Regions from separate parts of the Homo sapiens genome. Here region 2 is linked to region 1. Evidence: promoter capture Hi-C in human tissues and cell types (Jung and others, 2019). All regions are on one chromosome and are shown on one strand. The core of a region is centred on a gene start or on the middle of the fragment in contact, and the rest is flanking DNA. Distances in the headings are between cores, read along the strand shown.

The links. The method cuts DNA at HindIII sites, captures the fragments that hold promoters and counts their contacts. A contact is called where the count stands out against the background at its distance.
Region 2: the fragment with the promoter of NDUFAF1 here is called in contact with the fragment with the promoter of SPINT1 in region 1 in 1 of the 25 tissues and cell types used here (lymphoblastoid cells).

Annotation. Positions count from the first base shown.
Region 1 is chr15:40,841,607-40,847,018 of GRCh38, reverse strand. SPINT1 (serine peptidase inhibitor, Kunitz type 1) reads right to left here and starts at 2,971. Exons shown (of 11, transcript NM_003710.4): 1 at 2,833-2,971; 2 at 1,990-2,529. The coding sequence starts at 2,464. SPINT1-AS1 (SPINT1 antisense RNA 1) reads left to right here and starts at 2,495. Exons shown (of 2, transcript NR_146468.1): 1 at 2,495-2,840. RefSeq lists silencers at 2,290-2,529, 2,820-2,879, 2,960-3,189, 3,351-3,533 and an enhancer at 2,827-3,398. The HindIII fragment of the contact is 27,771 bases long and covers 1-5,412 here.
Region 2 is chr15:41,399,779-41,405,190 of GRCh38, reverse strand. It overlaps NDUFAF1 (NADH:ubiquinone oxidoreductase complex assembly factor 1), which reads left to right and starts at 2,695. Exons shown (of 5, transcript NM_016013.4): 1 at 2,695-3,047. The HindIII fragment of the contact is 27,298 bases long and covers 1-5,412 here.

The sequences.
Region 1 (5,412 bases), core at 1,722-4,221:
TGGCTCTGGAGAGGGACTCCCATGGGGCCTCTGTGGAGCAGGAAGGGCATGAGCAACTCAGGTCAGTAAGAGTCATCACCACCTACACTTTCTGCTACTTCCTTGTGGAACAGGCTGCAGCCCTGGTTCAGTGGGACTTGGTGGCCCAGACTGGCCCTCAGATATGTCCCCCTCCCATCCACAGGAATCCCCATCTCGCCTCTCCTCAGAGACCCAGGAGAGCTACTGGAAGGATAGGGAGGAAAGAGGACCCTCCTTAGCCTGGCAGAGAGACTAGCCCAGGAAAAGTCTGCGGAGGAAAGCCCTTTCTCCACTTTCCAGAACGGAGACCACCCCCAGATGTGGCCCCAGCCCAGTTCTGGCCCCCAAACTCCCCAATCCCCGGTTCTGTTATCCACTGGGCTATTTTGGGTCAGAATGCTAGGTTTTTACCAGAGAGATGGTCTTGTGTGAAAAACAGCACAGGACTTTTTTTGGAGGTCTCCCCTGGGGTGAATCTCAGGCCTACCATTTATGGGCAGTGTTACCCTGGGCAAATTCTTTAACATGGGAGTCTTAGTTTCCTAATCTAAAAAGTGGGATGACTGCTAGTAGCACCCTTTTTGGAAGTTGTTGTGATGAGGCCTGAGTGAGAGGATGTGTGGCACAGCAATCAGTAAGCTGTAAAGTGCTCACAGAGGTTATGAGAGGTGACCTACCCCTGCCCTGGAGCCCCACCTGGCCAGAACAGCAGGTAGAGAGAAAGGGGGAACCAAGGCTCTGGACTGGCCCTGATCCCAGCAGACAGTTCAGTCCGGGGAAGAAAGAGGAGGAGCCCTGGCCTCCGCTTTGCCTTTATCTATGGAAGTAAACAAGGTTTGGCTACCAGATTCTAAGCAGGGAGAGCCCTGTCTGGCTCATGCGCATGCACACACACCTGCCTGGACAGCTGACATCCCTTCCCTACTAGGTATACATACCAACAGGCTGACTCACCCCACAACCCTCCTCATCCCCCACCCCAGAGCCTCTAGGCTTCTGTGCCTACAACATCACTTCTCTCCCTTTGGATCAACCGCAGACTGGGCTTGTTTTCTAGTCTCGGATCTGGCAGTCTTCCTGGACCACCAAAAGGCCAATGCATTCCTAGGGGGTAGAGAGATGCTAAGCAGTCCCAAGTCCAGCCAGTGGAGGAGACTATGGCCAGGCTCACCTGACAGGGCATCGGTGTGCCCAGACCAGTGCTTGGCCAAGGTGCCTTTCTAGTCACCAGACCATCCAGACAGCTCACTCCTTCAATCAGCCTATCAGTGCCAGAGGTCAGGAGTCCTGGGGACTTCCTCTCCCCTCCAGTACACACAGCCCAGAGCCAAAGGCCTCCCTGTGAGCACCAGCCCATCACCTCTGAACATCCTGAGTTCAGGAGCCAGAGCCTGGGCCCTGCCCTCCCTACTCATGTCCCCTTTCATTTGTTTACTGTTTGTACTGCCTACTACCGATGTGAAGGCGATCTGGCTGTGACATCTGTCACCCCATTGATCACCAGGCTTGATTCGGCTGTACTGCCTACTTCTAAGGAGGGCTTCAGGTAGAAATAATCCCAGCACTTTGGGAGGCCAAGGTGGGTGGATCACCTGAGTTCAGAAGTTCAAGACCAGCCTGGCCAACATAGTGAAACCCCGTCTGTACCAAAAAAAAAAAAAAAAAAAAAAAAAAAAAAATTAGCCGGGTCTGGTAGCGGGTGCCTGTAGTTCCAGCTACTCCGGAGGCTGAGACAGAAGAATCACTTGAACGTGGAAGACGGAGGTTGCAGTGAGCAACCAGAGATTGCGCCATTGCACTCCAGCCTGGGCGACAAGAGCGAGACTCCGTCGCAAAAAAAAAGAAAGAAAAAGAAAAAAAAAAGTGAACTCTCCTTAACTCCTCTCTGATGTTCGTCTCCCCTAGGACCCCATAACCAGTCCCTTTTTTGAGTCTCTCCAAACCCATCCATCTTGGCACCCTCCTCACCTCCAAAGCCCTGGGTCCGCAGCTGGCGGTAGGAGCGGTACACTTCCCTCGTGAGGTAGTTGATGAAGCCCTCCCTGGGCGCGAACTTGCACACGAAGTTCTGCTCGTAGAGGCAGTTGATGAGGAAGCAGGCGGCGATGGCGTCCTCCCCGCGGTCGGGCTGCAGCTCCACTAGCGCCAAGTTGCAGTTCTGGGTGGTGCAGCAGGCGCGCACGCAGTCCCAGCCCCGGCGCACGGTGGGGGACTCCAGGAAGGTAGCTCCGTTGCTGACCGAGGCGTTGGTGTCCAGCACGAAGCCAGGCACCCCGGCGGTAAAGCTGTTCAGGCAGTCGGCTCCCGCGGGCAGCCCAGGGGGCGCGGGCGGTGGCCCGGCCTGGGTGCCCTGGAGGCCGAGCGTGCACAGAAGCCACAAGGCGACGGCAGGGATGCCGGCCGGGGCGAGGCGGGCGCGGGCCATCGTCCTCGCAGGGGCCATCGCCTTCCTCCCCAGGGGGGTCACCTTCAGAGCGCGGGCCTCTGGGTTCCGAGGGTGCTGGTGACCTGAGAAGAAGGGAGGGGACAGAGGAGGAGACACACCTGATCAGCCCGGGAGACTTTGGAGGAGGCGGGCCGGCCGGGAGGAAGTGGCGGGGAGGAGGGACCGGAGCACCCCAGGATCGAAGAGGGCGCACGGGCCCGGCCCTCCCACGCGCCCTCCAGGGACCCGGCAGCCAGACAGACGGACAGGCGGACCGCTAGGGAGCTCAAGTACCCGGACACACGCACGAGCGCAGAACAAAGGGCCGGACATGCTCCAGCCCGCTCCGCCTGCGCCTCGGCCTTGCGCGCGGGGGCCCGGGTTACCTGCGCAGGTGAGTTGGGTGGGGCCGGGTCCGCCGAGGTTCCGGTCCCAGCTTCCTGCGCGGCTCGGGTCGCGGCTTCCGACCCGGTGCTCGGAGAGCTGGGGCTCGGCCGCCTTCTCCCCCTGGTTTCTGGTGAAACTGAGTCAGCGCCGTCGGGGCGGGGCCGACATTCACCCTTGCGCTGCCGGCCCCGCCCACGCCCGGTGCGCTGCGGCCGCCTCTAGCGCGGAGCTCCAGGCCCGGCCCGCCCCGCGGCCCCGCAGCCCCGGTGCCTCCCCGGCAGCCAGCTCCCCGGAGGGGCTCTCGGGCTCCACCCAGTCCAGCCTCGCGAGGGAGCCCCGCGCCCGAAGCGCATACCCAGCCGGGAGGGGATGCGGCCGGGACGCGAGGGTCCGGCCTCTGGGGCGGCGGCCTCCAGTCTTCCTTTCCGGCCGGGGCCTGCTTTCCCAGCCCCAGACCTGAGGCCCGATGCAAATGATCTTTCCGGCCCTCAGGAAATCATTTCCATTTCGTGGCGGGAAGGTAACCCAAAAGTTGCGTGGCTGCACCTGTGATAACAGGGATCCGGGATGTCTGCCTCACTGTCAGCTCCGGGAAGCCCTCCCTGCTGTCAGGGTGAGAAACGGAGGCGATTCCCCGCGTCCAGGCTCCCCTGCGTGCTCCACGGGGCTTCCCTGTTGTTCGAGGCCCCTCCTCATCTTGTATGTACAGTTCGGTCCATTCCCTGCTATGGCTCATTGGACTGTTGCCCCCTTCCCTGGAGCCCAGGCTTCCTCTCTTTCACAAAGGGGACGCTGCTGGCTACTTTCTTCCAGGGAAATGTCATCCTTGGAAGCCTGGAGGTTCCAGTTCACCAAGTAGCTGAGTTAATGCCCTTCACGAAACAGTGGACTCCTTGAAGCCAAGCTCATTGCTCCTCCTGAGTAAAAAACTCTTAAGAGACCATTCTCTACGGCAAGGGTCTGAACAGGTGAAAGACAGATGAAGGCAGGGCTGGAGGAAGGAATCACATAGCATGCTCTCTTAAAATACAGATTCCAAACCTTTTCCTGATGGCTTAACAACCCCCAAACCAATGGGAACATTCTTCCCAGTTTCTCATCCAGAGCAGCTTTGCCTAGCAGATCCTGTGGCCAACCCTTGGATTTTGCTGAACTGCAACATCCTCCAGCTGCTCACATGATGCGTGTTGGGGTGGGAATCTGGGGCCTGTCTCCCCTTCTCTGGATGTTTAGGGTTTATCCACAGACCCTGGCACACTGGTGGATATACAACAATGGTGGTATGCTGGGAATGAAGAAAATGATTGTGCAGTCACTGGGAAGAAAGGGTTTTGTTGTGATTTGATTTCCCCTTATGGCTAACACATTCAAGAATCTTTATTTATTTATTTATTTATTTTTTTTTTTTTTTTTTTGAGACGGAGTCTTGCTCTGTCACCCAGGCTGGAGTGCAATGGCACGATCTCGGCTCACTGCAACCTCTGCCTTCCAGATTCAGGAAATTCTGCCTCAGCCTCCCAAGTAGCTGGGCTTACAGGTGGGCACCACCACGCCGAGCTAATTTTTGTATTTTTAGTAGAAACGAGGTTTCACCTTTTTGGCCAGGCTGGTCTTGAACTCCTGACCTCAGGTGATCCACCCACCTCGGCCTCCCAAAGTGCTAGGATTATAGGCGTGAGCCACTGTGCCTGACCTCAAGAATCTTAATACAGGAAAATATTACCTTATGGTAATATTACATCACCATAAATTTATCATTACATCCATTATACACACCATTATAAAAACCAACATGAATTCAGCACTGACAATGCCCAAACTCTGTTCCTAAGCACTGCCCACATATTACCCTATACTCAAAACAAACCTAGGGAGGTAGTATTTTTAGCCCCATTTTACAAATGAGCAAACAGGCTCAGACAGGTAAACTGACTTGTCAGGTCATTCAGCATTGAAGCGGCAGAGTAGGGATTGGAGCCCAGGCAGGCCAATTCCATGGCTTCAGTGCTTAAACCCTGGGCTTTATGGCCTTTGCAATTCTGACTTCATCTGGAAGTTCTGCCCTCACCTCAGATTCAACTTGCTTAAACCCATAACTCACTTTCAAGTGGTGAGCACCCACCATTTGTTGAGATGCCCACTGTGTTCCCTCCAGGCACTTGACATAGGATTGCTAATGCTCAGGACAACTCTAAAAATTGCTTCCACTTTGCAGAAAGGTTCACTGACTCCATCAAGGTCAGGTAGTGAACGAAGAGTGGTGACAGGTTGTAGAGAAGTTGAACTTGTGAGCTTCAGACTCAGACTACTGGATTTAGCTCTTGCATCTGCCACTTACTATTCGTGTGGCCTTGTGCAAGTTATTTGATCTCTCTGCCTTAGTCTCCTTGAATGGGAAGTGGGGCTTCATAAGGTTTTTTATGAGGATTAATTGAGTTAATGCAGACAAAGCATTTGACACAAAGAGTTCTCAATAAATGTTACTTGAAACGACAACAACAACAACAACAAAAACACATGGTGGTGAGGATGCAGAGAAAAGGGAACGCTTATACATTGTTGGTGGGAATGTAAATCAG
Region 2 (5,412 bases), core at 1,446-3,945, 560 kb before region 1:
AGCTCTTTGCCTTTATTTCCTTCCTTTATTTCCTATATTTCCTTCCCCTAGTGACTCTACCTTTTCTTCTGCCTGGCATTGTCATGTCCTTCCTTTCTATTTGAATATTTTTTTCTTTCTTCCAGCCTTCCTTTCTCCACTGGTAATAAATACATATGGGGCTTCCTATACTTAAGCAAACAGCCTGGCACAGTGGCTCACGCCTGTAATCCCAGCACCTTGGATGGCCGAGGTGGGTGGATCAACTGAGGTCAGGAGTTGGAGACCAGCCTGGCCAACATGACGAAACCCTGACTCTGCTAAAAATACAATAATCAGCTGGGTGTGGTGGCATGCACCTCTAATCCCAGCTACTCAGGAGGCTGAGGCAGGAGAATCACTTGAACCCGGGAGGCGGGGGTTGCAGTGAGCCGAGATCACGCCACTGCACTCCAGCCTGGGTGAGGAAGACTGTGGTTCAAAAAAAAAAAAGCAGCAAACAACTAATGATTAGAGACATGCAAATCAAAACCAAAATGAGATACCACTTCACACTCATTAGGATGGCTACTATATTTTAAAAACCAAAAAAACAAGAAACGTGTCAGTGGGCTTGGAAAGAAGGTGTGAAAAGATCAAAGATCAAAAACAGCAAGAGAATGCAACAGGATTTAAAATCAGTAAGAGAAGATTTTAAGGAGAGGAGCCAAGGACAGTCAAGCATTTCCATCCTAGAAGGATGTGGCCATTTACAGAAATAGGGAGACAGGAGGAATTAGTAGGAGGAAAAATGACACATTTAGTTTTAGACATTTAGTTTTCTTTATTGCTCAAGGATATTTCCTAAAAAACAACAACAAAAAGACATTTCGATTTTTTCTTTTTCTGAGACGGAGTCTGGCTCTGTGGCCCAGGCTGGAGTGCAGTGGTGCGATCTCGGCTCACTGCAAGCTCCGTCTCCCGGGTTCACGCCATTCTCCTGCCTCAGTCTCCTGAGTAGCTGGGACTACAGGCGCCCGCCAGCACGCCCGGCCAATTTTTTTGTATTTTTAGTAGAGACGGGGTTTCACCGTGTTAGCCAGGATGGTCTCGATCTCCTGACCTTGTGATCCGCCCGCCTCGGCCTCCCAAAGTGCTGGGATTACAGGCGTGAACCACCGCGCCCGGCCGATAACTTATATTTGAAACTAGAAAAGAGGTAGAGGCAGGATGGGCCATGGAGAGACAGCCCGCATTAAAGGTTGTGGGAAGAGAATAGAAGAGTCAGTGATGGGGGCAGAAAGGTAAGGTTTGAGGGGGCAAGTGTAGAGTCTAGAGAAGCCAAGCCGAATTTGAGGAAGAGGAGGCGGCGCGGAAACTAGTGAAGGAGAAAACATGGAAAGGGCTAGTGTATTTAGTGAGCTCCTTCGGAACCTTAGAGAACAAAGGTGTTACGGAACTATATGCTCTCAAATTCACACTAAGCACTAAATTCCCGCCGCTATGGTACATTCTGGGGAAAGGAAAAACAGCGCAGTCTGGACCCAAGAAAGCTCACAGCGTGGCAAAGGAAGTGAGAAGTGAGTGAAAGATACAATGTTGATTCTGTCTTCCCTGGCAGTAAGAAAAAAAAACAAAAACAAACAATGTTTAAGTGCTTTGGCCGGGCATGGTGGCTCACGCCTGTAATACCAGCACTTTGGGAGGCCGAGGTGGGTGGATCATGAGGTCAGGATTTCGAGACCAGCCTGGCCAACATGGCGAAACCCCATCTCTACTAAAAATACAAAAATTATCCGGGTGTGGTGGCACACACCTGTAATCCCAGCTACTTGGGAGGCTGAGGCAGGAGAATTGCTCCAACCCAGGAGTCGGAGGTTGCAGATCGCGCCACTGCACTACAGCCTGGGCAACAGAGTGAGACTCCGTCTCAAAAAAAAAAAGTGCTTTAAGAGAGGTGTGCACAAGGTACAAACAGATGCCCTGAGCAACTGGCGACCGTGTGGGGCGAGACTCGGGAAGGGCTGGTAGGAGGGGCTGCTGTCCAGGTGCGTGGTGGTCCTCAAGAATTCATGGGGGCAATTCCAGCAGAATCGGCCTTTTGAGGCCTCAGGCAGTTCTTGTGGGGACCGAGGCGACAGATAAGGAAGGAAGGGATACAGGCGCGTTAGCAATAACTGGGTTCTATTTGAAAGACGCAGGGGGCCGGGCTTGGTGGCTCGCGCCTGTAATCTCAGCACTTTGGGAGGCCGAGGCGGGTGGATCACGAGGTCAGGAGATCGAGATCATCCCGGCTAACATGGTGAAACCCCGTCTCTACTAAAAATACAAAAATTAGTCGGGCATGATGGCGCGCACCTGTAATCCCAGCTACTCGGGAGGCTGAGGCAGGAGAATCGCTTGAATCTGGGAGGCAGAGGTTGTAGTGAGCCGAGATCGCGCCACTGCACTCCAGCCTGGGCGACAGAGCGAGAATCCGTCTCAAAAAAAAAAAAAAAAAAAAAGACGCAGGGATGGAGTTTGCCGCCTGAAAGGATACAGGAAGGAGAGGCGAAAAACTTATCTGAATTCTCACTGCTTCCTTACAACTGGCGACCAAGTGGACCAAAAACCTCCAAAAACCTCAGTTGGCTGGGCTACGGGGTCCTTGCTGTCCTTCCTGGGCTTCTGTACTCGGCCGGAACTTTGGTGTTCTGACGCCTTGTTTGGCATCGGAAGGGAAAAGCAGATGGACCTATACGGGTAAAGTGGCTTCTGGGCGGAAGGTACACTATAGGCTCGGGGAGGTAAGCGGCGGCAGGCCGGCGGTTGGTGTGTCCCGGGTGTGGGGAGGCGACAGAGCCCTGGCACTTGAGGGTTGAGGGGGCCTCCCCAGCGCGGCGAACCGTCTAGCCTCCGGAGGCCAGGCCGTGAGTGCGGGAGGTATACGCCAAGGCGGAAGAATTTTGCCACTCACTACCTGTGTGACCTCGGGTAAATTAGCCTTGGAACGTCAGTTTCTTCGTCTCTATAATTGAAATAATAATAGTACCTCTCTCAGGATTGTTGTGAGCCGTCAGTGAAACACTTAGAGCAGTTTCTGGCACATGGTAAGGCATGGATAGCTTTACTAATTCTACTCACTTCTAGCTGCGTGGATTGTGTTGTCAAAACCCACCGTCAACCTCAGGGCGGTATTGTCCAGTTAATAGTTTAGATTTTCTGTTTACTGGTAGAAAAAAAAAAATGAAACAAAGCATTTATAATTAAAGTTATATTATTAGAGAAGTAACACTACGGAGGGTTTGGAAAACATTTTATGAGCTATCATTTGTTTCTCAAATTTCGGTATGTGTAGAGGTAAAATCATTTAAGTGCAACCGGCGCGGGGGAATTTAAATATTATCCATAATTCCGGGACCTCAGATCAACTGTTAATTTTTCCTGGTTCCCTTAACGTTTATAATACATGTGAAAACATACTGTTTACATGGTTTTGATTTATCAACAAACCTTATTGATAATGTCGGCTGGGCGCGGTGGCTCACGCCTGTAATCCCAGCACTTTGGGAGGCCGAGGCGGGCGGATCACTTGAGGTCAGGAGTTCGAGACCAGCCTGGCCAACATGGTGAAACCCTGTCTCTACTAAAAATACAAAAATTAGCTGGGCGTGGTGGCGCACGCCTGTAATCCCAGTGACTGAGGCAAGAGAATTGCTTGAAACCAGGAGGTGGAGGTTACAATGAGCCGAGATCGCACAACTGCACTCCAACTTGGGGGACAGAGCTGGACTCTGTCTTAAAAAAAAAAAAAAAAAAGTTGGGCATGGTGGCGGGCACCTGTAATTTCAGCCACTCGGGAGGCAGAGGCAGGAGAAGCACTTGAACCCGGGAGGCGGAGGTTGCAGTGAGCCAGGGTCGTGCCATTGCACTCCAGCCTGGGTGACAGAGCGAGACTCCATCTCAAAAAAAAAAAAAAAAAAAAAGGTTGGGCGCCGTGGCTGACGCCTGTAATCCCAGTACTTTAGGAGGCCCATGTAGGCGGATCACCTGAGGTCAGGAGTTCGAGACCACTCTGGCCAACATAGTGGAACCTCATCTCTACTGAAAAAACAAAAACAAAAACAAAAATTAGCCGGGCATGGTGGCGCCCGCCTGTAATCCCAGCTATTCAGGAGGCTGAGACAAGAGAATCGCTTGAACCCAGGAGGCGGAGATTGCAGTGAGCGGAGATCTCTAGCCTGGTGACAGAGCAAGACTCCGTCTCAAAAAAAAAAAAAAGTATTGATAATGTCATTTTACCTATTGGTGTCTGTATCCTACAGAAAGGAAATACGTATCTGACTTGTTTCATAGGATTTGTGTGTGGATGGCATGAGATAATATATATCAGGGTGATATGAAAGTGTTAGGAGTAGGCTGGGCATGGTGGCTCACACCTGTAATCACAGTACTTTGGGAGAACAAGGCAGGTGGATCACGTGGTCAGGAGATCGAGACCATCCTGGCTAACACGGTGAAACCCTGTCTCTATTAAAAATCCAAAAAAAAAAAAAAAAAAAAAATAGCTGGGCATGGTGGCGGGCGCCTGTAGTCCCAGCTACTCGCGAGGCTGAGGCAGGAGAATGGCGTGAACCCGGGAGGCGGAGCTTGCAGTGAGCCGAGATCGTGCCACTGCACTCCAGCCTGGGTGACAGAGTGAGACTCTGTCTCAAAAAAGAAAAAAAAAAGTATTAGGAGTGGTATTCATCAGGTGCAGTGGCTCACGCCTGTAATCCCAGGTACTCCAGAGGCTGAGGCAGGAGGATCACTTGAACCCAGGAGTTAGAGACTCGTCTGAGCAACATAACAAGACCTCATCTCTATTTTTTTTTTTTTTTTTTTGAGATGGAATTTTGCTCTTGTTGCCCAGGCTGGAGTGCAATGGCGTGATCTTGGCTCACCACAACCTCCACCTCCTGTTCAAGCTATTCTCCTGCCTTAGCCTCCCAAGTAGCTGGGACTACAGTTGTGCGCCACCACACCGGGCTAATTTTGTATTTTTAGTAGAGATGGGGTTTCTTCATGTTGGTCAGGCTGGCCTCAAACTCCTGACCTTGTCATCCACCCACCTTGGCCTCCCAAAGTGCTGGGATTACAGGCGTGAGCCACTGCGCCTGGCCTTACAATTTTTTATTTTTATTTATTTATTTTTTAGACAGAGTCCTGCTCTGTTGCCCAAGCTGGAGTGCAGTGGCTTGATCTTGGCTCACTGCAGCGTCCCACTCCTGGGTTCAAGCGATTTTCCTGCTTCAGCCTCCCGAGTAGCTGGGATTATAGGTGCTTGCCACCACCCTATAGGTGCCCGTCACCACACCCAGCTAATTTTTGTATTTTTTTTTTTTTTTTTTTTTTTTTTGAGAAGGAGTCTCGCTCTGTCGCCCAGGCTGGAGTGCAGTGGCGGGATCTCGGCTCACTGCAAGCTCCGCCTCCCGG